Linked DNA regions of Homo sapiens: regions 2, 3, 4 and 5 are each linked to region 1. The links are contacts of gene promoters, found by promoter capture Hi-C in blood cells and fetal thymus (Javierre and others, 2016). All regions are on one chromosome and are shown on one strand. Each heading gives the region's core, a stretch centred on a gene start or on the middle of the fragment in contact. The rest is flanking DNA. Distances are from core to core; before and after follow the strand shown.

The links. The method cuts DNA at HindIII sites, captures the fragments that hold promoters and counts their contacts. A CHiCAGO score of 5 or more calls a contact.
Region 2: a contact is called between a fragment that was not itself captured here and the fragment with the promoter of MSL3 in region 1, in 1 of 17 cell types (non-activated CD4 T cells). The highest score is 5.0, in non-activated CD4 T cells.
Region 3: a contact is called between a fragment that was not itself captured here and the fragment with the promoter of MSL3 in region 1, in 1 of 17 cell types (fetal thymus). The highest score is 5.3, in fetal thymus.
Region 4: a fragment that was not itself captured here is called in contact with the fragment with the promoter of MSL3 in region 1 in 1 of 17 cell types (total CD8 T cells); the score reaches 6.2 in total CD8 T cells.
Region 5: a contact is called between the fragment with the promoter of FANCB here and the fragment with the promoter of MSL3 in region 1, in 1 of 17 cell types (naive CD8 T cells). The highest score is 6.1, in naive CD8 T cells.

What each region holds. Positions count from the first base shown.
Region 1 is chrX:11,754,688-11,759,486 of GRCh38, forward strand. MSL3 (MSL complex subunit 3) reads left to right here and starts at 3,550. Exons shown (of 13, transcript NM_078629.4): 1 at 3,550-3,678. The coding sequence starts at 3,577. It overlaps MSL3-DT (MSL3 divergent transcript), which reads right to left and starts at 3,396. Exons shown (of 2, transcript XR_007068393.1): 1 at 2,065-3,396; 2 at 1-833. RefSeq lists silencers at 3,090-3,289, 3,310-3,459, 3,470-3,849 and an enhancer at 3,703-3,997. The HindIII fragment of the contact is 7,532 bases long and covers 1,101-4,799 here.
Region 2 is chrX:15,744,151-15,748,949 of GRCh38, forward strand. The region is part of intron 1 of CA5B (carbonic anhydrase 5B); the gene reads left to right. The region is part of intron 4 of CA5BP1-CA5B (CA5BP1-CA5B readthrough); the gene reads left to right. Among named protein-coding and RNA genes, the nearest start is that of CA5B, 8.3 kb to the left of the region's middle. RefSeq lists an enhancer at 3,020-3,881. The HindIII fragment of the contact is 2,553 bases long and covers 1,564-4,116 here.
Region 3 is chrX:15,675,286-15,680,084 of GRCh38, forward strand. It overlaps CA5BP1-CA5B (CA5BP1-CA5B readthrough), which reads left to right and starts at 173. Exons shown (of 12, transcript NR_160544.1): 1 at 173-493. It also overlaps a transcript of CLTRN not described here and the pseudogene CA5BP1. RefSeq lists enhancers at 1-456, 129-248. The HindIII fragment of the contact is 629 bases long and covers 1,816-2,444 here.
Region 4 is chrX:15,336,664-15,341,462 of GRCh38, forward strand. No RefSeq gene overlaps it. Among named protein-coding and RNA genes, the nearest start is that of PIGA, 3.5 kb to the left of the region's middle. The HindIII fragment of the contact is 2,735 bases long and covers 257-2,991 here.
Region 5 is chrX:14,870,102-14,874,900 of GRCh38, forward strand. It overlaps FANCB (FA complementation group B), which reads right to left and starts at 2,968. Exons shown (of 10, transcript NM_001018113.3): 1 at 2,885-2,968. It overlaps MOSPD2 (motile sperm domain containing 2), which reads left to right and starts at 3,320. Exons shown (of 15, transcript NM_152581.4): 1 at 3,320-3,436; 2 at 3,588-3,657. The coding sequence starts at 3,428. RefSeq lists a silencer at 3,058-3,287. The HindIII fragment of the contact is 4,870 bases long and covers 1-4,563 here.

The DNA.
Region 1 (4,799 bases), core at 2,300-4,799:
CTCATCAGTATCACCAAAATTAGCAATAGACAACATACCAGATGCCAATAACCTAACTCTACAACTGCAGGAGGGGCGTGATCAGGATGCTTTTGCTGCATGGAGGTTTATTATGTCACAGAGCAAGAAGTTTGGCGTTAGGCATCAGGATTAGTTAATTTAGTGCGTCAGGGGCTCAACAGCTCCCCAGTGACCCAGGTGAGCGAGTGCTAGCCTTGGGCTCTCATCCTCAGAGCCTCAGTGACGATGGCCAGCTCCGTGGTGCCAAGGTGGCTACAGCACTGACACCCTCTCCAACGCCGCATTCTGATGCAGATGATAACACCCAGTGAGGAAGAGGAGACTTTATGCCAGATGTATTTCTTTTGGGGGGAGGCAGGTGGAAAATATTTTCCAGAAGTACTCACAGTTCCCCATTTTAACTCGCTATGAGAATTTCTCATTGGCCAGGCGTGTATCACATGACCATACTTAAACCAGTCACTGTAAGAGGAAGGGGATTGCCGGGATTGGTTTAGACCAGTAGTTCTCAGCCCCGCCTGCACAATGGAATCGCCTGGGAACTTTGGAAACAAAATTCCAACTCCTGGCAACAGTATTTTAACAAGTTTTCAAAGTTCCCCAGCTGTTCCAAATGTATACCCAGAGGTGAGTCCTACCGTATTAGCCCGATCAAGTGTCACTCCAGCCCTGGTGAGAGGTCTGCTCTAACAATGTGGGATGGCAAACACCTGAACAAAATTGGGCCTCTGCCAGCGGGGCGGCGGGCGACGCAACTAACTGGATCCCGCACTGCACTCACCTTGCTAAGAGAAGCAATTCCTGTAGGTGACCTATAATGAGAAATCAAAAAGATTTGTTATAAGATTTAATGGTTATCTTAATCCCGACAAAAACAAGACCATTCTATAATCATGCCCGAATACAGACGAAACTACTGTCCAAACCTCAAAAACTGGAAAATGAGGAAAACACCTAAGTTGCAATTCAAGAGTGCCTTCCTCTCTGGAGCTTTTTCAGATACTCTCCCTCCTCCTAGAGAGAAGTAAGCTCTTCTGTCTCCTCTATTCCACACCAGCTTTATCAGGGTATGCACATAAAGCTTGAACTTGATTGCTTGCTGCTCCGCCCTCCTGAAATGTGCCCTCTGGGAGGACAGGGGTAATGTATGTATTCTACTTTGTGTGTCTAGCAACCAGCACACAGGAGGTCCAATAAATATTTGCTGAATGAATGAATGAATGAATGGGGGACACGGAGAAACAGATAAGAAATGCCTAATGTCAAGAGCAAATATTTACCCAGCCCTTATATGTCAGGCACTACACAAAGCCATGTACACTGAATTGACTCATTGACTCCTAAAAAACCCTATGAAGTAGGAGCCACTATTTCCTTCATTTTAAACATGAACAAAGTGCATTACAAAGAGACTAACCAGTTGTCCATGGTCACAAGCTAGAAAGTGACAAGCATGGGACTGGGTCCTGGAGAGTGGTTTGCAGAGCTGGCCATGTTCTTAACCTTTACACCCGAGAGGAAAAATGATGTCCTGCATTAAGGGTGGAGCCCTCTCTAGTGGATCCTAATCTGGAGGAGGACTGTAAGGGGTGCTGCCATTGGCAGGCTTTTTAACTTTTAGGTTCCTGAAGGCTTTTGCATTCTTGGACTTTTTAGAGGGACGGGGAAAGAGGAATTCCTCAATGACATAAGAAGGGGTGGAAATGCGGAGAAACAAAGGAAAGCATCTAAAATCCTATCCCTGAAAGGGTAGAGCCTGCAGCAGAACTCTCTCCAATCATGGGCAGGAAAAATAAAAAGGTGAATACTTCAGTTACGGTTTACACAGGACGTGCAATTACATGTGCTTCCAAGCCGCCCCTGCCATTTGTGGGGAACACCACCATCTACTGTTCTCATCTCTGATACACCACAACCTGGAGAGGAATCATGGTTCCAGTTCTAGTTTCTGCACCGTATTACCCCAAAGGCCATTTGACCATCTTCCCCCAACCTTTAACTCCTCTGTATAGCCTTATTCTGGCGGATGCAGCTATTACTCACCCAATTCCTTGGGCCAGAAAACCTGGAAGTCTCTCAAGATTCCTCCTTCCCTCTCCTTCACATCCAATTGGCCACTGAGTTTTGTGGGTTCTATTTCCTAAATCAATCTGTTCATTCATTCCATATTATGTGCCACGAATACGCCGTGATGAATTGGATAAGACCCCTACCCCCAGCTTCAAAGAGCTTACTGTCTTAATGAGGTCATTTTGCAAATGAACAACCCATTCTATAGCACAGTGGTACATGCAAGAAAGGGGTTAAGCAGAGTCCTGGGAGGGAACACCTCAGGGCTTTATGATTCATCTTGGGAAGCCTGAGGGCTTTTCTGTTGGCATGCCCACGCTGAAATGTGAAGGATGTATACCAGGAACCTGGTGAAGGAAGCGTGCAGAGGGGAAGCAAATGCAACTTTCTGGAGGCTAGAACAGAGAAGGGGAAGTTCACCAGGTCCGCAGAGATTAGCCTGGAAGCTGGTCTCCAGCCCGGTCCTAATCCAGTAATTACACTGCCCAACGGCTTTCCAAAACTCAAAAGAAAAAGCCCAGCACTGTCCTTCCTGTCCCTGGAAGTTTGTCCTTCAAGTCTCCCATCACTTGTCATTCGCTCATCAAGTATTTACTTAACATCCACTCTGTGCAGGTACCATATTGATAGCGGCCTCAAGGGTGCTTCTATTTAGGGAATTTTTAGTCTATTGGAGCAGATAGACCGTGGGGGGCATTCCGGGGATGCTGGGGGCTGTCAGGCCACGCTAGAAGCTGACACTGAAGACGTCAGCTACTCTTTAAGGACCCATCTGCCTCGCTGCCCACTGCTCAACCCGTCACTGGGGGCTCCAGGCCTGCCACCGGCTTGTCCTCTGAAGGGATAAGCAAGTGTTCTATTCACAGCCCGGAGTGCCCTTCTGCCCTCGCCCGAGGCCACTGCCCGCCTGGGGCCAGCTCCAGCGCTGCGTTCTCCAAGCGTGGCCACACTCATCGGCGCGCTGCTCTGCCAAGGGGGCTGACGCGGCGCGCACGGCCAGGGAGCTCTTGGGGGCAGACGCCGTCCAGCCTCCCGGCCGCCGGGTGCCTACTCCAGACCGGCTCTCTCTCTCCCTAGGCGCCTCCCACGCCCGGGCCGGAGAGCGGGCGCTCGGGGCGACGGACGACCCTGCGCGCACGTGGGCGCAGCCTGGAGGCCGCGGGGACCCTCTCCCATGGGGGCGACGGGAGACGTCCTGCCGGTAGACCTTGGCCAGGGGGTCGCGCTCCCCGCCCGCACCCCTCCCGGAGCCCCGGCGGGGACGTGCGGGGACGCGCCCGGGCGGGAGCGCGCGCGCCAGGCGCCTCCGAGGTCCCGGCAGCGGCTCGGGGCGGGCGGAGGAGGGGCCGAGGGCGGGGCGGCCGCAGCCTCCGCCATTCCCGGCCCCCCCCGGCCACGGCGCACCGCCTCCCCGCCCCCGCCCGCCCTCCCCCACCGCGCGCGCTCCGCCCGCCCCGGAGCCTCGCCCTCCGCCACGATGAGCAAATGAGCGCGAGCGAGGGCATGAAATTTAAATTCCACTCAGGGGAGAAAGTGCTGTGCTTCGAGCCTGACCCCACCAAGGCGCGAGTGCTGTACGATGCCAAGGTGCCGCCGCGGAGGGACAGGGAGGAGGCGCGGGCTGGGGGACCCGGGACCGGGGGCGGGGGCGGGGGCGGACGGCCGCGCGGAGCTGAGGGACCGGCCGGGCTCCTCGGCCTGCGAGGAGCGGTGCGGCCGGCAGGGGGCGCTCACAGGGCGCTACGCCCGGGAGTCGGGGCGGGGTCTGGGATGCTTCCACTTCCTTCCGTCAGGCCGGGCGGCGCACGCGCGGTTGGGAGCCTCGCCCATGCTTTGTCGCGTTACCGGGGCTACCGTTTGCGCCCCCGACTGCAACGGTGGCCGCTGAGGGAGGAGGCTTCTCGAATACGGTTTCTGTCTTCGCGTTAAATGTCTCCTTCTGTGCGGCCTGGTGCCGGGTGGGCTCCTGTGGGACGCCCTGGCCGTCCGATCCAGGTTCTAATTCATAGTTACACGGCGCTGGCCGCTGACTTGCGACGTTGTGTCCCTGGGACCCTAGTCCAGTTTAGGCCCCATCCCGCCTGTAGGCCGTGAACCCCATCCCGAGGGCAAGGTTGGCCCAGTGTTTTCGTACCCCAGGGCCTTGCAGCATTTACGTTTTCAAACTCTGAAGGATTTACGTGGGTCTGACCATAGTTGATGGGAATCGCGCCCCGGGCCGGTCCACCTAAGTCTCCGGGAGCTGAGCCACATCTTGCAGCTCCTCAGATTTGGGTGGCGGGCAGGAGTTGGCACCAGGTCTCCCAGATCCCCAAGGAAAGCACCCAGGTGCTTTCATTTCAGAGACCTGGGTTCCTAGGGCCACCTGGGCGAAGCCTTAGGCGGCAGGGACAGGGGCAGTCCCAGGTGTGTCTTTGGCGATGTCTGGACAGCTCTGTCCATTAGAGATGCTAAAGGACATCCCTAAAGGGATGAGCATATTCTGCCTTCAGTTCCCTCCCCTGCTGCTCCTGTCTTTTAACCGCGTCTGCTATCCCTCTTTCTCCTCGCCCTCCAGCCTCCTCGGGGCGGAGGGGGGGGGGCACGCCCCATCATTAGTTTTAGTTGTTCCCTCTAGGGACACAACAGGGAGGGATTCCAGAGTCTCCAGCTAGCCATCCTGGCACTGGACATAGGGGAGCCCAGGAGACTACAACTCCCAGAGCTCT
Region 2 (4,799 bases), core at 1,590-4,089, 4.0 Mb after region 1:
CAGCCTTGGTGTCATGCAGACAGTGTGATTGCAGAATGGAGGGCAGTCCTCAAGGCATGACCATGGCCCTGGCCGTCAGCCCCAGCCTGCCATGCCTCAGTGCTTTCCGGATGGCTCTCTGTGGAGCAGAGTCAAGGGTCATTTCCCAGATGTCTCTGAATGCCATGCTAACAGGCCTCAGACCCACCCCCGACCAACAGCCTCTTGTGCAGGGCCCTGTGCCTTGGCCTCATGTGTGTTCACTCATCTGTTTGTACAGCTCTCCTGGCTGGCGGCCATGCCCTTGGCCTTGTCTTATCACAAGCTTCCCTTTGAAGGCAGAGCCCACACATCCTTTCTGTTGACTTTGCATTGTACTTGCCATCATCTTCCCAAAAATTACTATGTCTCATTCTAACTCGATTGTGAGCAAGAAAGGAGGCCTTTTCCACTTGTTTGCCCACATCCCCCTGATACTGGAATTGTTTATTGAGTAAACCTAAAGTTCTTCCCATTTTGACTCCAATTGTTCTCTTCAGCATTGGGGCCTCATCATCCCCTGCCACCTCCTCATCATCGCGGAAGGTTCCCCTGTCCATCCCTCTGCCTTTGCCTCCCTGTTAAATTGTCTCTCTCCTACAATACATTTTTCAGATGCCACCCTTTCCTGAAACTTAGAGCCCCTGCGCCACATATTCCCATTGCACTAAATCAAGGCCGTCATTGTGTCCAGCTTTGATTAAGAAATTTCTGTTTATGGCCAGGCACGGTGGCTCATGCCTGTAATCCCAGCACTTTAGGGGCCAAGGTGGGCAGATCACCTGAGGTCAGGAGTTCGAGACCAGCCTGGCCAACATGGTGAAACCCCGTCTCTACTAAAAATACAGAAATTAGCCGGGCATGGTGGTGGGTGCCTGTATTCCCAGCTACTCTGGAGGCTGAGGCAGGAGAATTGCTTGAAGCTGGGAGGCGGAGGTTGCAGTGAGCCGAGATCGCACCACTGCACTCCAGCCTGGGTGACAGAGCGTGACTCTGTCTCAAAAAAAAAAAAAAAAAAAGAAAAGAAAAGAAAAGAAAAGAAAAATCTGTTTAATTATACTAAGTAAAATAAGCCAGTCACAGAAGGACAAATACCGTACGATCCCACTTACGTGGGGTATCTAGAATAGGCAAATAAATACACAGAGACAAAGTAAAAGCGAGATTGCCAGGGGCTAAGGGATAGAGGAGGAGTTATTGTTTAGTGAGTACATAGTTTATGTTGGGGATGATGAAATAGTTTTGGGTGCAGATGGTGGTGATGGTTGCACAACATTATGAATGTATTTAATGCCACTGAATTTGTACATTTACAGCTGGTTAAAATGATAACTATTATATATGTTTTATCACAATTTTTAAAAGGTAACAAAAAAAGAAGTATTTGTTTAAATAGTTTTTCTTTGTAGATTGCAAGCTTGTGGGAGTGGGGAAAGAGCATGATCTTTTCATCTTTACACAGCACAGTGCTCGACATGAGATAATCACTCACTGTTCCTTCAGTTCAGGACTGGAAATCAATGGAAAGGAAGAACAGTTAAGGCAAGCTTTCCCCATATCTTTTAGAAGGTTTTGAAATTTCATTTTAATGTCAAATCAGTTTTATCAGAGGGAATCCTGATTAGTTGCAGTTGTTTGTTTGGGGATATTTATTGACTTTAAAAGAAAACAAAAAAATGATACTAAAAGTCGTCCAAAATGACTATTTTCATAGCTTTTTGCATTTATATGATGGGTAGCATTTTAACAAAATCAATTTGAGTAATAATAACTTGTATTTATATAACACTTAGCAGCTTTTTCAAAGAGCTTTCATAGCTTGCACCATTTGAAGCCACAGAAAGCGTCAACTTCTTTTTTTTTTTTTTTTTTTTTTTTTGAGACGGAGTCTCGCTCTGTCACTCTGTCACTCAGGCTGGAGTGCAGTGGTGCAGTGGCATGATCTCGGCTCACTGCAACCTACACCTCCCGGGTTCAAGCGATTCTCTTGCCTCAGCCTCCTGAGTAGCTGGGACTACAGGTGCACGCCACCACGCCCGGCTAATTTTTTGTATTTTTAGTAGAGATGGGGTTTCGCCATGTTGGCCAGGATGGTCTCGATCTCCTGACCTCATGATCCACCAGCCTCAGCTTCCCAAAGTGCTGGGGTTACAGGCGTGAGCCACTGCACCTGGCCAAACTTCTTGTATAGTGTAACTGAGCAACTATTTTTCCTGCTCCTTGGGTTCTAGATTCTTGCATAAATTTAAGGGTGTACTTTAAGCATTAATCTTAACCATTTCAGTTCATATTATTGTAACCACTCAAGGGATTCTTCCTGCCTGCTGCACAAAGAAAGACCACGGGGCATTGTAACCGCCCAGTGGGTTCACATTGCCCGCTGCCTGGACAGAATCGATTTACCAAGACAGGGGAATTGCAATGGAGAAAGAGTAATTCACATAGAGCCAACTGTGTGGGAGACCAGAGTTTTATTATTAAATCAGTCTCCCCGAGCATCCAGGGATCAGTTTTTAAAGATAATTTCGCGGGTAAGGGCTTGAGAAGTGGGGAGTGCTGATTGCTCAGGTTGGAGATGGAATCATAGGGGGTTGAAGTGAGGTTTTCTTGCTGTCTTTTGTTCCTGGGTAGGATGGCAGAACTGGTTGAGCCAGATTACGGGTCTGGGTGGTGTCAGCTGATCCATCAAGTGCAGGGTCTGCAAAATATCTCAAGCGCTGATCTTAGGTTTTACAATAGTGATGTTATCCCAAGGAGCAATTTGGGGAGGTTCAGACTCTGAGCCAGAGGCTGCACAACCCCTAAACTATAATTTCTAACCACTAGCTAAGTTGTTAGTCCTGCAGAGGCAGACTCGTCCCCAGGCAAGAAGGGGGTCTTTTTGGGAAAGGGCTGCTATCAATTTTGTTTCAGAGTCACACCATGAACTGAATTCTTTCCCAAAGTTAGTTCAGCCTATGTCCAGGAATGAACAAAGACAGCCTAAAGGTTAGAAGCAAGATGGAGTTGATTAGGTCTGATTTTATTCACTGTCATAATTTCCTCAGTTATAATTTTGCAAAGGCGGTTTCAGCATTGTAGTAAAGAAAGAGTTTAAGTAGACACGAGGCTGGCCACACCATGTGGGAGATGGAATTAGTACTGAAATAATCTCCTCCAAAGCTCATAGGTTACGGGTTTTTCAAAGGCAGTTTAGGGGAATGGGTGGAGGTGGCTAGGCTTGCTGCTGATTGTTTGAGGAGGAGATGAGATCAAAGTGTCCTTTGATTTCAAAAATACAATGAGGGATAAGTTGATAGGATGTCTGGGAATTTGCTTCAAAATAAGCTGGGGAGGAAAAATGGCAGGAGGGGGGGTAGAAGATGTATAAATAAAACTTGATTGGCCATGAACAGACAATTGTTGAAATGGAATATTGGGTACATGGGTGGTTTTATTATAGTGTTCTCACTATACTTGTATAAAATTTAAGTTTTCCATAATAAAGTTTTTCTTTGTTAAGAAAAACAAAGCAGAGTGAGATTCTAAATTGAAGTTGCCAATGGCCTATTGTTCTTTAAGTCTGCTCAGTTAATTCAGTTAAGGAAGTTATTTGAAAACAGGGTGCTAATGACGCGGCTTTGTTTTCTGGGGTAAATACCCTGGGTTCGGTGTCTCACACGGAGAAGATTAACGACAGGGACACACACGTGGAGTTCAGGAGAGGAAAGTTTAATAGGCAGAAGAAAGGAGAGAGGAGAGCAGCTCTTTCTCTTGCGAGAGGAGAGCAGCTCTCTCTCTTGCAAGAGAGGCGTCCAAAAATGGGACAAGTGGCGGACTGCAGCAGATTTTATAGGCAGGCTTGAGGAGGCGGTGTCTGATTTACATAGGGGCCACAGATTGGTTCGACCAGGTGTGACATTTACATAGCACGCAGGAAGGCTGGTCGCCCCACCCTAATCTTATTTTGCAAAGGGGCTTTCTACTTGGCCAGTGCCATCTTGTCTGCTCCTTACTGTACACTTAGCTGGCAAAGGGAAGATGAAGCCGCCATTTGGAACATGCCTAGTCCTATGTAGTATTTTTCTATTGGCACAACTGCCAGCATTCACCTGTGCAAGCTTCCAGCTTGCTTGTCTATGTCTGCAGCTCAATTTTACAGGCTGCTCTTTGTTAGGAAAGAAAATGATTTGGGGGCTGCTTTTTATTAAAAGGAAAACCTTACTGAGGACTCCCATATCCTCACTATCTGCCTAAGTAATTTCTTCTTAACTCCTATATCACTATTATTTAGCTCAAGGCACCATCAAGATAATCCCTTGAAAGTTGATTACCAGTCCATGTTTGATATCCTGAGTCAAACATTTGCATCTCTTAAATAAGGTGCATTTTGACATACATGCTCCGTTCAAAAATGTATATACACAAACACACACATAAAACTATAAGCAGGCCAGATGCAGTGGCTCACACCTGTTATCCCAGCACTTTGCGAGGCCATTAAGCAGGAGGATTGCTTGAGTCCAGGAGTTTGAGACCAGCCCAGGTAATATAGTGAGAACCCCCCCCCCCGCCCCCGCCAACCCCCATCTCTAAAAAAAATAAAGTTAGCCAGGGATGGTCGGGCACAGTGGCTCACACCTGTAATCCCAGCACTTTGGGAGGCTTGAGGTGGGAGGATCACTTGAGATCAGGGATTCAAGAACAGCCTGGCCAACATGGTAAAACCCTATCTCTATGAAAAATACAAAAAAGAGCCTCTGCACAGGTCGGAGGGAAAGAAAGGAGTTGGAAGATCTGAA
Region 3 (4,799 bases), core at 880-3,379, 3.9 Mb after region 1:
GGATGATCACTGGGCGAAGGGTGGAAAAGTGGCCACAGATGGAAAGGCGGGCTGCGGAGTAGTGACCGGCAAGGGAGGTGGCGCGAAAAGGGAAGTAGGGACATGACGTAGTTGGAACGCAGAGACGTGCCTCGAACGTGGGGGGCGCGGTCCTTACGTGTGGGCGTGCCTTGTTGCTCTGAGGGGCGTAACAAAGATGGTGGAGCAGGCGGAGGGCAGAGGCGTCGGCAAGTTAGCGTGCAGGCGCGTGGCAGCGACAGGAGATGTGTAGCCAGAGCGCAGAGCAGGTGTGGACTCCGGCGCTGGGGAAGCGTGGCCAGGGCGAGATTTCAGCCTGGGTCGGGGACAGAATGGGGACTGATAGGGGCGTAACCTGGAATGACGAAATGACGTTTGCTGCGTAGGGACGTGGCTAAACGTGAGGGGGCGTGGCCAAGATGGCCGCGTGCGGGATCCTCGGGTACCGGGAGCGAACGAGGAGGTTCTGGCTCAGGTAAGTCGTTCGGGTAAGGGCGGGCGGCAGTAAGGAGCGTGGGCAGCAGCAGGGCGTGGTCTGCTTGAGAGGGCAGGAACTGTGCCACTTGCCGCAAACATGACCGCGTGCCGCTATCGGCCCTGGAGCCAGAGAAGCTTTTGGTGCGGCGAGGTTGGCCGGGGCCCTGGCGGGGCTTCTCTGAGGAATGGGAGTGGGAGGCTGGCGGCGGGGAAATAGCCACTTCCCCACTCTAGCCCTCTTTCTCCGCTATGGGGATCACCAGACATCCTTTTAGGATTCTGTCTATTAAAAAGTAGAACAGCTTTCCCAGAGACATTGCGGGATGAGAGGAGTGTCCAGAAACCAAGGAGCAGCAAGCTGGGACTCCCTCGGGTCTGCATTGTTGATATTCCCACCTGACTATGCTAGGGGCTATGGACAGACACAGCCACCCCAGAGTAGATCAAAAGCACAGTTGTGTCCCTTGGACAAATCTGAGTTTTTCTGTTGTGCCTTGCCCCAGAGCCGGAGGAGAGGAACCTCCAAAATGCAGACATTCTTGGTGGCTGGGATTCTGTGTGATATTCAGCGTTAAATGCTGCTGCTCTGAGGCTGCTGGAAACGCGTTAGTATTAATATCTGTGTACTTCTCTCACATTTACTTTTGCTGGAAAAGCTTGGGAAATGACTTAACGAAGATGCGTAAACCTTAATTTGTTTATATGCTCCTTATTAGCCACTGAATACCACATTGCTTTCTGCTTCCCCTTCTTCTTTACTGATAATCTGACCATTTCCACTATGCACTTTGAAAGTCTTGCTGGAGTATGGAGAATAGTCAGAAATCTCTGGTAAGATGCTGCCCCGCGCATCTCTCAGAGGAGTCACTATTCATAGCCTGCATCAGAGTTCACAATGAACCAAAGTTCACCCCACCTCCCCTGTCTTCAGGGACTTAGTGAAAAGCTGCACTGTTCTTGAATATTTTGGAAATGAAAAACTTTCTGGGCTATTTTAAATCAGTACCTGGGCTGGAATTAACCGAAAGGCGAAACAGCAAGGGCACCATTCTCTGTGCCTATACGTAGCTGCCCTGTGCTTGGAACCAAGCAAAAAGGCTGCCACTGCTCACAGTTGCAATGGAATAAAGGTTGAGTGCCTTGTGATTGCATATGAATATTAAGGAAATCTGATGGAAAGAGGGAAATTCATCATGTCACTGGCCACACTGGGGCAGTTAGTTGCAACACACAAATCAGGTATAATATATTTTGAAACCTTTGGCAACCTCAGATTGGGATCACACTCTCAAGGAAGAAGTGAGTGAGAGGAGGAAGCTAAGCTTTCTTAAGACATAGCAGCGTAATCTCTAATTTAAGTTTCAGGAAATTGCAAAAGGCAGGCTTCCTTTTGAAATCAGGAGTTGAGAAAATGAAGAGTCAATCTGATGCCAATCAAGGAATTTTTCAATATAATTGTAACCTTTTGTTAGTACTTTTCCTGTCTCTTTCGCATAAGTTGCTTAATCAGGCAGAGTTCAAGCTATGAGGCATTTAATAAATACATTACTTATGAATGACATTTAAAGACTTTTAGAATCTTTTCTTTTTTCACACATTTCTAAGGCTGCAAAACAACAGAAAAAGAACATGTTAGTAATATCCAAGGCATACATGAATAATCAGTGACAGCAAAGGATGTGTAGCACAGAAGGCTTAGCTCTCCTAGGCGGTATCCAGCCACACACTGGTAATTGTTGAAATGGAGTATTGGATATATAGATGATTTATTCTCACCATTTTTTTGTACAAGTTTGAAGTTTGCCCTAATAAGGGGAAAACAGATTCTAAATTCAGTTGACCCATGGACTATTGCTGTTTAAACCTGCTAAGTGAATTCAGATAGTGAAGTTATTTAAAAACCAGATGCTCTTACCTGGCTGCAGGAACTATCAAGATAAGATATTGAAAGCTTATTGGCAGTCTGTCTTTTAAATCCTGAGCCAGACTTTTTTACATGGCTTCAACAAGGTGATTTTTCATCTCCTTAGACATTTTGACATACACACTCCCACTAAAAACTGTATTTACACAAACACAGATAAAACTAAACAAAAGTGATTTTAACTTTGGTTTGAGAATTGTCAGCACCTTTTAGGCAACGCAGACATACTTTAGGTGTCACTGGCTGTTACGAGTTCAATTGCACCCTCCCATCTCAAACTCATATACGTTTAAGTCTTAAGCCCCAGTACCTCAGAATGTGACCTCATATGGAGATTGGGTCTGTATAAAGGTAATTATGGTCATTAGGGTGACCACTAGTCCAATATAACTGGTGTCCTTAATTAAAAGGGAAATTTGGACACAGACAAGATGAGAATGGCTTACGAAAATTGGATTTAATGCTGACACAAGCCAAGGAATTACCAGAAGCAAGGTTTATTAGGTGTTCTCCAGAGAAACAAAACCAATTGTGTGTGTGTATGTGTATATATGTGTGTGTGTATGTATGTATGTGTGGGTGTGCCTGTGTGTGTGCTTGTGCGTGTGTGTGTGTGTGTGTGTTTAGAGAGAGATTTATTTTTAAAAATTGGCTCGTGAATGTAGGCTCGTGAAATTTGCAGTGCAGGCCAGCAGACTGGAGACCAGGGAAGAATTGATATTACAGCCTGTCTTACTCAGTTTTGTGCTGTAACAGAATACCTGACACTGGATAATTTATAATGAACAGAAATTTATGTGGCTCATGATTCTGGAGGCTGGGAAGTCCAAGGGCATGGTGCCAGCATCTGCTCAGCATCTAGTGAGGGCTCTCTCTTGCATCATCCCATAGCACAAGGCAGAAGGGCAAGAACATGTGCATGTGAGGGGTGGGAGTGGTTGGGGGTGAAGAAGGAGGGAGGGAGGGAAGGGAAAGAAGCCAAATTTATCCTTATATCAGGAACCCACTACCTCAGAAACTAACCAGCTCCCCCTAATAATGGCATTAATCCATTCATGAGGGGAGGGCCCTCATGATTTAATCACCTCCCAACACTTTTGCGTTGCAGATTAAGTTTCCAAAACGTGAACTTTGGGGACACATTCAGACTGGATTGTGAGCACAAACTGGTGCCATGGCACAGCTCCAGTCCAAAGGCAGTCTGGAGGTAGAATTTCCTCTTCCTCAGGGGACCTGTCTTTTTCAACTTAAGGCTTTCGACGGATTGGGTAGGGCCCACCCACATGAAGGGTAATAATCTTTATTCCAAGTCTACTGATTTAAATGTTAATCTTATCTAAAAAATACATTCACAGTGACATTTAAACTGGTATTTGACCAAACATCTGGGTACCATGACCTACCCAAGTTGGCACATAAAATTAACCATCCAAGTAGAAAGGCCTGGAACAGAGCGCTCATTGCCCTCAGAAGGAACCAACCCTGCAGAGAACTTGGACCTCAGATTTCTAACCTCCAGAACCATGAGACAACAAAAATTTTTAAGCCAACCAGTCTATGGTACTTTCTTACGAGCTAATACATTGGCCTAAAGACCTCCGGTAGGGAGTCAAGCCTAGAGGTAAGGAACCTCCACAGGATTCACTAACTTCCTACCAGTCCCCTTTAATGTAATGGCTGCACATCTCTGGCTCCCTGAGTTCAGCGCACATTAGCAAAGTGATGCATATGCAAAGCAAAGCGCATGGCACTGTGCCAAAAGACTGGCTTCTCATCCTGCTGTGCTTTATTTCACAATGCACATAGAGATGATTCTCGCTCCTTTCACGTAGGTGTAGTCTTCTCTCTAGCTTAGATGGAGCAGGATCAAGGACAGCAGTACAGAGGAGAAGAGCTAGTTCACAGCCAATTACTAGCATGAATGTGCACAAAGAGAGGGGAGGATGAAAGCACGTTTGCCTCCTTTCTCAGCATCACTGAGGACCATGATGTGGGTTTTATATCTTACATTCTTCTTGGAAAGATGGTGTAAAGAAATAAAGTTCAGATTTGTAAGGGAAATGTGTCTTTAGTGCCCCTCAACTTCTACATTTGTGCCTTTTGCCACCCATTCCCACCTACCCCAACCCCCACCACTACCCCACCATGGCCATACTGCTGAGAGCCCCTCTTTTGGCAAGAGAAGGCAGAATCTGAGGTGGCAAAAAACACCCTGCTGCAAACTGGTTTGCTCTGTGTTTCTCTTACCCATACTATGTGCATTTCAGGAGGCTCCTAAGGGAGAAATTACATACCTGGAAGGTACAGTTCAAGTCTTGGTCATCTTTGCATCATAGCACCCACCACTGTGCTTGGAGCAAAAGAAATGACAATACATTTT
Region 4 (4,799 bases), core at 374-2,873, 3.6 Mb after region 1:
TCTTTACCCAATGTCAGCACACTCCCTGACACATATTAGATGCTCACAATAAAATGTATTGACAGTATTTCGTGGAGTGTACCTTATACAAATTACAGTGCAATAACATCATTGAAAGAGCATTTTAGTTGTGAGATTTGAAGCGAATTAATGAGTTGATGAGTAAGACTAGAGTAGCAATCGATACTTTGCCCTGTGTTAATATTGATGAAGCATCGGAGAATTACAGTGATGAAGACTCAAGGACACTTAATTAAGCTTTATAATTTGTAGTTGGTTTCACAGATAACAGCGACATTACCAGATAGGTACAGCATTTGGCCTCCTTTCCATTTTTGTAATAGGTTTTAAGACAAAGAGTGGGGGTAGAAATCCTGGAAGGTATAAATGAGGGTTAAGCCTCACTTATTGAGCCCCTGGTTTGCCCCTGCCATAGTTCTGATCACAGTACACGTTTGAAATTCCACCATGAATCTTTTTTCAAAATATAACAAATATTTCTTATTTTTATCATCAAACATTTACTGGATGTCTGCTCTGTAAAAGGCCTTGTGGGGAATACAAGAAATATTAAGCATAGTCCCTGTGTTTCAACAGCTTTTTATTTTTTCTAGCTTTTCCTGTACATGTTATCAATAGTCAAAAGAAATCCACCTTTCTTAAAAGGTTCTTTGTGTTTCAAATATAGAATAGGCTGACCTTTATAAATAGATATTAATAGAGGCACACTGTTGCTGAGTCTCTGTGGGGGAGGGCGTTGAGGAGCCTGCAGGCTGTTCCAACAAAGTCTGAAAACATTGAACATTTATTTAAAGCTCCAGCTTCTGTCCTAGGCACTGAGCATTAAAAGATAAATAAATCATGATTCCGACTCCCAAGGGTTCATAATCTCACCTGGGTACATGACTTCATTTATAGTCAGTTAAGTAAAGGTCTCCATTTAAGGCTATATTCTAAAAAGTCAAAAGAAATTTGTAGTAGCAAGATTAAGATATAAATCTGGAGATGATTCTAATTATGGTGTCCTGCCTTAATGTATGGTCTCAAGGTATGTCTTGAGAGAATTTTCTCCGGAACCACTAAAATTAGACTAAGATACTTACATGCATTATATTCTGATTGCACTTAATAAAATATGAGGGCAATTGGTACCAGTTTTAGTATTAAACGACCTGAGATGATGAAGATGTAAAATAAATGTAGATATCATCTTCCCTTGAAATTCAGTTTTTGCAACTTCATATGTAAATTAGCTCTTTGGGATAATCTTGGAGTGCGAAGGCAACAAACATGTCTTGAGAGCCTACTATCTGTGTACAAAGCACGATGCAGAGAAAACCTGGCATGAGCTTTACTTGCAAGGAAACAATACAGAGTTAAGGCATATGTAAATATCTACGATAAAAAGCAGGAAGTGATAAATGCCATAAGAGAAATATAAGAAAAATATTGGGAGTTCAAAGGGGAAGAGTATTTCTAGCTGCCAGCATTTAGCTAGAAGAATAAGTAGATGGTGTCATGCAACTCTTGGGAACAGGGTAATTCCAAGAACAACATGAATGAGGTACAGACAGGTGCTGTCCAGCAAACACTGCTTTGTAATCACAAAGGAAAAGAGAAGGGAAAGTGGGCAGACAGAAGAAGAGTGGCATTATCAATGAAGGTTAGAGCAAACTGGTAGAAGATATTACTAAGGAAAATGGGCTTGATGTTGAGGCGGACTTCCAGCCAAGATCACATTTTCAATTAGTATTTTGAGACTCCTAACTCCTGATTCTGCTTCAAATATAACAATAAGTGATACAATATAAATGAGAAAATTTAATGTTTTACCTGTGATTTAAACAAGAAGATAAACATTTCCGTGTATCAGAAACAGAACCAATACGCAAAATGGTGATCAGGAACAAAGCCACCTAGGTCCTGGATTCTGTATGTGGCAGCAGGAAGATGTGAACCAGGGTTCAGCCCCTGTAGAATAATAGACTAACAGGGTTCCATGTGTGGCTTGATACAGGAACCAGTTTTGTGAGAGACTGTTACAACGGTGACCTTCAATAAACCAGTATTCCATATTGGCAGCCTTGTCTAATCCTCTCCCACATTGGCTCTGGGTTTGAGCATGTGACTGGAATGGCCAAATGAGATGCCACAGATGCTTAATAAGTGTTTATTTACTGGGATGCATCTTGTTGGAACCTTTCCTCTTGAAAGCCAATGACCATGCTGTGAAGCTCAGACAAGATATTGGATAATGGCAAGCCACATGGAGAGAAGCCCTGAAGAATGAGAGGTCATCTTGGGCATTCCAGCAGTAAGTGAGTTCCCAATTTAATATAACCACTGGAGTGACTTCAGCCTATACTATGTGGAAAGAACCACTTAGCTGATCCTAACTAACCCACAGAATTATGAGAAATAATAAATCGTTATTGTCTCAAAACATTAAGTTTTTGGGTGATTTGTTACATAGCAATAGATAACCAAGCCTTATTGCTTAACCATCTCCCCTACTTGTGAATAGACATTGAAAGAATTTTTTGCCAACAGTCTGAGGATATAACTTTGCTAACAGAACTGAGCCAAGCAACATAATTTGCAATTTTCCACTATCACTGCTAGTCTGGGGGATATAAGCACACACACACACACACACACACACACACACACATACACACACACACACACGGGGAGAGGAGAGAGTGAGAGTGAGAGCGAGAGAGAGAGAGCTCTCAAGATTGGTTTATAAACCAAAATTCAAAAACAATGGAAGATATATAATATTAAGAAAGACAACACACAAATGTAACAATGGAAGAAGAATTCACTCTAGACGCAATTCAAATAATTTTTGAAATGACATTTTTAAAAGAATAAGAATTTGGAAATAAAAACATGCAGAAATTAAACAAACACCAGTGGATATAAAAGAATCAATTAGATACCTTGAACATGAAGATGTTACTAGCATTTTTAAAACTCATATTGATAAGCTTTAGGCTACACACTGTTGAAACAAAGGTTAGTGTGGTGGAAAAGAGTAACTAAGGCAGTTACTTCTTTTTGATGCAGAATATGAGATGAAATGTCAAACCACAATCAAAGCTTTGTCCTAGGAAAATTGTTCCAAGAACTGGAGAAAAGGAAGGTGAAAGAGTGGCACAGCTGGAGAAGAGACCAGTTAGGCTGTTCCAGTAGTCCAGAAGCCTCCTTGCAATTTAAAGTAGGGGCTGCAGATCAGCAACAGCAACTGGGAGCTGGTCAGAAGTGCAGACTCTCAGATTCTCCAGACCTGCTAAATCTGAATCTGCAATTTAACAAGATCTGGAATGATAGTATGCACATTATAGCTTAAGAAACTAGCTCTAGACTAGAGGCAATGAGGACCTGATGTTTTCTCGTGGCAATAAAAAAAAAGAGAGAGACAAGGAAAATCACAGGATATTGGGATTTGTTTGAGTGATGTCTTCCTTTTCGTTTTAGCACCCTTTTTTGAAGACCGTCCTCCAGTAGCCTCCTAAAGAAGACTGCATGGGAGATCGGGAGATTTTCTAAGAACTTTAATGTCTGAAAATTTATTTTTCAGCCCTCCAATTTTATTGATAGTTTGGGTGCCAAATAGTAGGCCAGAAATTATTTTCCTTCAGAAGTTTAGCAGCATTGCTCTAGCCTGCTAGCTTTTGGTGTTGCTATTGAGAAAACTAATTTCATTCGGATTCCTGGCCCTTTGTTTGAAGTTATCATAATTTTTCTTTACTCTGGAAACTTATACATTATCTCTTAGTCTCCCGTGTCCTGAAATTTCATCATTTTGTGCCTTGGTATAGGCATAGTTTCACCTTTTGGACTAGGGACTCAGAGAGCCTTTTCACTTGCCAACTCATGTGCTTCGAAATTCTCTTGAATTTTTAAATTGTTGATTACATCTCCTATTGTGTCTCTTCTCATTTCCTGTAACTTCAGTTATTCTGATGTTAGACCTTCTTATCTTTTCACTTTTAATTTCTTATTTATTCTACTTCATAGGAAATTTCTTCAACTCTGTCTTCCTTTTTTGTTCTATTGAATTTTCAATTTATTATAATAGTTTTAGTTTCCTAGGGCTCAATTATGTCCTCTGACATTTTCTTTTTTAATAACACCTTCATTTTATTTATTAGTTGCACTGTCTCACCTTCTTCCCTCATCCCCTGGCTATTAATGATTTGAAGTTTTCTTCTGTTTCCTCCAAATTGCCTTTTTCTGTGTGTTTTACTCTCTGTCTTTCATGTTAGAAATTTTCCCTGGAGGTCTGGGAATTCATGCTTGCTTGCTCATACTTAAAAGAAAGGGACAAAGGAGCTGATCTGAGGTCTGAGCCCAGGAATGGGGCTTGATGACCTCTTTGGGCTGTTCCATTTGATAGTCCCTCCCCCAGCTAATTTCAGTCCTTTTTAGGTCTTTTCTCTTAGGCTGGTAAGATTCCCCCTAGAGAAATACTTTTCCAGTACAGATCCAACTGCCTGAATTGTGGTTGCACCTAGTATGTACGCGTTCACTTAATCCTCTTGTTAGTTCAGCACCCTGCCCTCATGGATGTCAGGCATCCCCCATTCAGGATGCTCTCTCTTTTACCTTAGCCAAACGACTAATAACCCATCTTTTGCCTGGGGTTGGAAGGAGCAGTCACTCCACCACAGGGAATGTGGGAGAAGATTTGGGATCAAACTGTTTCTTATACAGATTTTTGGAATGAACCTCATTTTAGCACCCCTCTCATCCCTCCCATTTCTAGAGGTGCTTGGGACACCCACTTCTGA
Region 5 (4,799 bases), core at 1,718-4,217, 3.1 Mb after region 1:
CTTTTTTCCCAGCTTTATTGAGGTGTAACTGCTAAGACAGTAGATATTAAGTATTGCTGCTGCAACATCTATTTTTAAAGTTCTTGGGATATGTTCATAAAACCTGCAGGCCATGAAATAACTGGCATTTAAAAAAAATAGAAACATATCTGGAAACAAATCAAACTAAGGTTCAATTTACAGGTTCTTAGTCCAATTATAAGCAACCCCTCACTATTTTAAACTCTGCTTATCAGGGCCCCAGGTTTACTATTCTAGCCTATGGGCTATTTGACTTTTTACTTATTAACATTATAACAGTGGCTGCAGAAGATACAGAAGTAACTAGGGGTGGCGGTGCGGGGCAGGGTGGCGGTGCGGGGCGGGGCGTGGAGACCAGAAAGTAGATTATTTATAAAATACTACATAATTAATTTGAGCTTTTCCTGTTCTATATTACCATACATCAAAGTTGACTATCTATTTTATACATAAAATTAAAACAGATGTGTGTGTATACTAGAAAAATGATAATATATACAAGCATATGCTAACATAAAAATAGTAGGCTGGCAATAAAATTATCATCCTCATCTACTCTTTACTGCCCCCCCTCTTAATAAATATGTTGTTCATTCTTTTTAAATGCTCATAAATCATTTTGGCCCTATAAATGTGACAATTCTTTAAATAAACTATCAGTGTGGTTCCAGATTATCCTAGAAGAGCAGATGACATCCAAAAAGTCTAAGAAACCATATTAACTGTGACCAAGAGAAAGTATCCTTGGGAAAAAAGTAAAATTAAGACACTCAACTAAAATGGCACCTAATAATACTGAACATAATTTTATGAAGATAATAATGATAGATGTTGTTTTTCCAAGACATATGACATTGTTAACCAAAGTAAATTAACTTTCCTACAAAATAGGGCCACTGTTAAAAGTTTTTTTCTCCCTACATAAGTTATTTATTGGGTCCTATACAGAATTGATCTCACCTTTTTCAACATTATCTAATATGCCTGAAATGTGAGTAAATGCGGGAGAATCGTGATCAACTAAATTAGAGGATTTGGGAAGATTACGCTAAAGAAGATTTTTATGTCATATTAAGGACTTATAAATTTCTCATATAAGTAATGATAACCCACTGAAAGACTTCAAAAACAGAAATCACAGGACTGTACTTTTGAGTTATGAAGATCCTGGTGACAGTGTTAAAGGTGTGAGTGAGATCAGACTGGAAAAAGAGCTAACAATTAGAAGAAAATTATGAGTACTTAAATAAAAGGGAGAGATGACTCTGAAGGTAATTTGGCAGTCAACTGAAATGCATATACCCAGTAGTTTCATTTGTAGATATAAACCCAGAGACATAATCCCACATATGAATGAATACATTGCTCTAGAAGCTCACTGTGCTGATATTTGCAATATAAAAAAAGTAAAAACCTCAATGAACACCAATAGGGGAATGAGTATAGATGGACTATCAAACAAGAGTTAAAAGGAATGAATTAGATCTATCTATCTATATATGTGTGTGTGTGTGTGTGTATATATATATATAATCATGGTTAAATTTCAAAAATAAAATGAATTAAAAATTAAGTTGCAGACAAATGTACACTGCAGCATATTATTTATGTAAAACAAATAAAACAGCATTATATATGTTCTATTTACCTACAATGACTACAGTCCCTGAGTGCTTTCTCAAGAAATAGTGCCATGTACTATTTTTTTTTTTTTTCCTGAAGAAACAGTGCCAGGTACTGCTCTAAGCACTTTGGATTAACTCGTTTCTTCCTCACAACATCCTTATGACATAGGCACTGTTACTATCCCATTTTATAGATGGAGAAACTGAGGCAAGGAGTTTCAGGATCTTCTCAAAGGCTTGCAGATAAGAAGTGACAGAGCCAGGATTCAAACCCAGGCAGTATGATCCAAAATAAAAAAATGTAAAACTGTAAACATTTCATGCCAAATTCTGAATGCTGTTGATTCTGGACAAGGAAGTGTCCAGGATAGGTGAGTAGAGGTAGAAGGAGACTTTAGTTATATCTGAAATATCTTTTAAGGATGTAGTCAAACAACGTTTAAACAATGTGTTCATTTTTTCCCATAAAAAATGTAAATATATTTAAAAGTCTAGGACAAAAGATGCTAACATGCCATTCTGTCATGGATGACTACGGTTGATGGAAATATGGGGGACTATTCTTACAACTTGTTTGTAGTTTTCAGTATCTTTCAACTTTAAAAAAGGCAATATTGTATGCGCAACTATTTTCTTTCAATTGTTTTTAACTGACGAATAAAATTTGTTCCAGTCCCTTTAAATCTAAATCTTTCTCAACCTTGACACTATTGACATTTTGGGCTGGATAACTGTTGTGAATTTTCATGTACACTGGAGGATGTTTGGCAGCTTCCCTGGTCTCTATCCACTAGTAGCCAGTGAGCATCTCTTTTGCCCCCGGCCCCTAGCAGTGGTGACTAAAAATGTCTCCAGAGGTTGCCAAAGGTCCCCTGGGTGGTAAAACCGCCCCCCCCACACACACCCCCCCACCCCCCCGGCTGAACACAACTACCTTAATAAGCCGAAACACGCTTTTTTTAACTTTATATAATTATTTGAGATTAAAGATTTCAGAGATATTTTGCTCATTAAGCATCTCACACTCCAAGTTGGAAGGATACTGAAGGGATGAAAAAAACTTCAAGCGAATGTAGCACTTAAAATCCAATTATCATTGCAAGGAATGACAGACCCAGGTCTCGGGATGCCCGCTTCCTTCCCTCTCTCCCGCAATGCGGGGACAAGGGGAGGAAATCCAGCCCCATCGCCCCCTCTGCGAAGTCCTGGGAAGGGAAGACTCGCCAGCCCCATCCTACCTCAACGCAGCGGCAACATACCGGAGGCCCCACGTCGATACGGTATCCATCTGCTCCAAACCTCCCGCCAGCGCGCTGCATCCTGGGAGGCCGGGCGGAGGCTGCGTCGAACGCAGAGGAGGCGGAGCCTAGAAGCCAGCCAGGAGAGGTGGCCAAGGGAGGCTGAGGAGGCGGGGCCCTGGGGAGTGTTGTGAAAGCAGAGAGCCCGCGAGCTCTCTAGGGCGGAGCTCCGCGGGGGAAGCGCCGGCGATCTCGCGGCTGGCGGGGGCGGGACCGCAGTGCGGGGGATGTCGCGGGGCGAGGCCAGACGAGAATCGAATGGGACCTAGGCTGAGGGCCTGGTCCCGCCTCCAGACCCAGGCGTCCGCATTGGATTGGGCGGTGCGGCGGCGCTTCTGTCCGCCTTCCGGTGTCACGCGACCGCCTCCCCCTCCCACCCTTCTCTGTCTACCTCTGGGCGGGACTGCCGGGTGATGAGATACTCGGTCGGCGACGGTAGAACGGGCGACGGCGACAACCGCAATCACATCCACGACGGTGATCATGGCAGAGGTGAGGAGCCTATTGCACCGCCGCTGGCCCCCCGGACCCGGAAGCCGCCTCTGAGGCCCGGGGACCGAGCGCCCGTGTGCAGGTGGGCTGGGTTGAGGGTAAGCGGGTTGATGCAAGTAGTATCTAAGGTCCCATCGTGTCTCCCATCCAGAATCACGCCCAGAATAAAGCCAAGCTCATCTCTGAGACCCGGAGGAGGTTCGAAGCTGAGTATGTGACAGGTGGGTACTCTGTTCCAGGTATTAAGAAAGGTGTGCAGTGAGCATCCCCAACTTTGCTGGAGTGTTTGTGAGTGTATTTGTGGGAGGTGTTAGGGACCCTTTCGACCCTCACAGGAATGATGCTGGGCACGTCTCAAAGGTTTTCCTCTCCATGACAAGCCGTGTGCACTGCTTCAAATGGTCAAGTGGTGTGTCCCATGCTCCCTTTAAAGGGTTAATGTAAGTTGGAAATCGGTTAAGTTTTTAGCATGCCCTCGTGTTTATGGAACTTGCAGGATACTTGTTAGGCCCACAACACGGGTGACATTGTCCAGTCCACGGTTCCACTGCTGGCCTTTCACCAGCAACACTAGCGAAAATGTACCTGGAAACTGCCATAATACTATTGATGTGTACTTAATTGGGTATACAAATTCCTTGGATATTTTGTTTGATTTGGCTTTCATACAACCCAGCATGCTACCCACAAAATAGGCCCTCCAATGCTGGAACAAGTTCTTATCCCAAACTGTATCTTGCAAAGTACCTATGAGTCCAGAATTGATTTATTGGTTGAACATTCTGTGTCCAGATGTCACAGATACTTGAGTTGTCAGGTACTTAACTGAATATTTAATGCTTGTACAGTAATTTTGTAAAACATACGGAATAACTTATTGTAAATATGGAATTAAATAAGGATTTATATGTTGCCTACCTTAAGATTGATTGTAATCCTAACCCTGCCACTACATAGCTTACTTGTCTATTCTGAGCCCGTTTTCATATCTGTGAAGTGCAAATAATAAAGTTAGTAGGATTAAATTTTTTAAAAAAACATAAACCATCTAGCATGTCTTAAAATATAGTGGATTCTCAGTGAATATTTTGCCTCAGTTGTCATTTTGGTTACTGTGAAAGGAGTTAAGCTTCTACATCTTGACTAGTACTCAGCAGAGGTTCCCTGCAACTTTAAACCATCCTAGATTATACATCAGTTGATGACATAGAACAAATATGGAAATCGGTTTCAAATACTTGTCAGTAAATCTTTTCATACCTCCTTGCCAATTTTCTTCACACCCCAAACTTTGTTCCAGAGAGTTGCAAAAGCACTTGATTCACTTTTCACCCAGAGTTCCCATTTCTAATAATATAGCTGG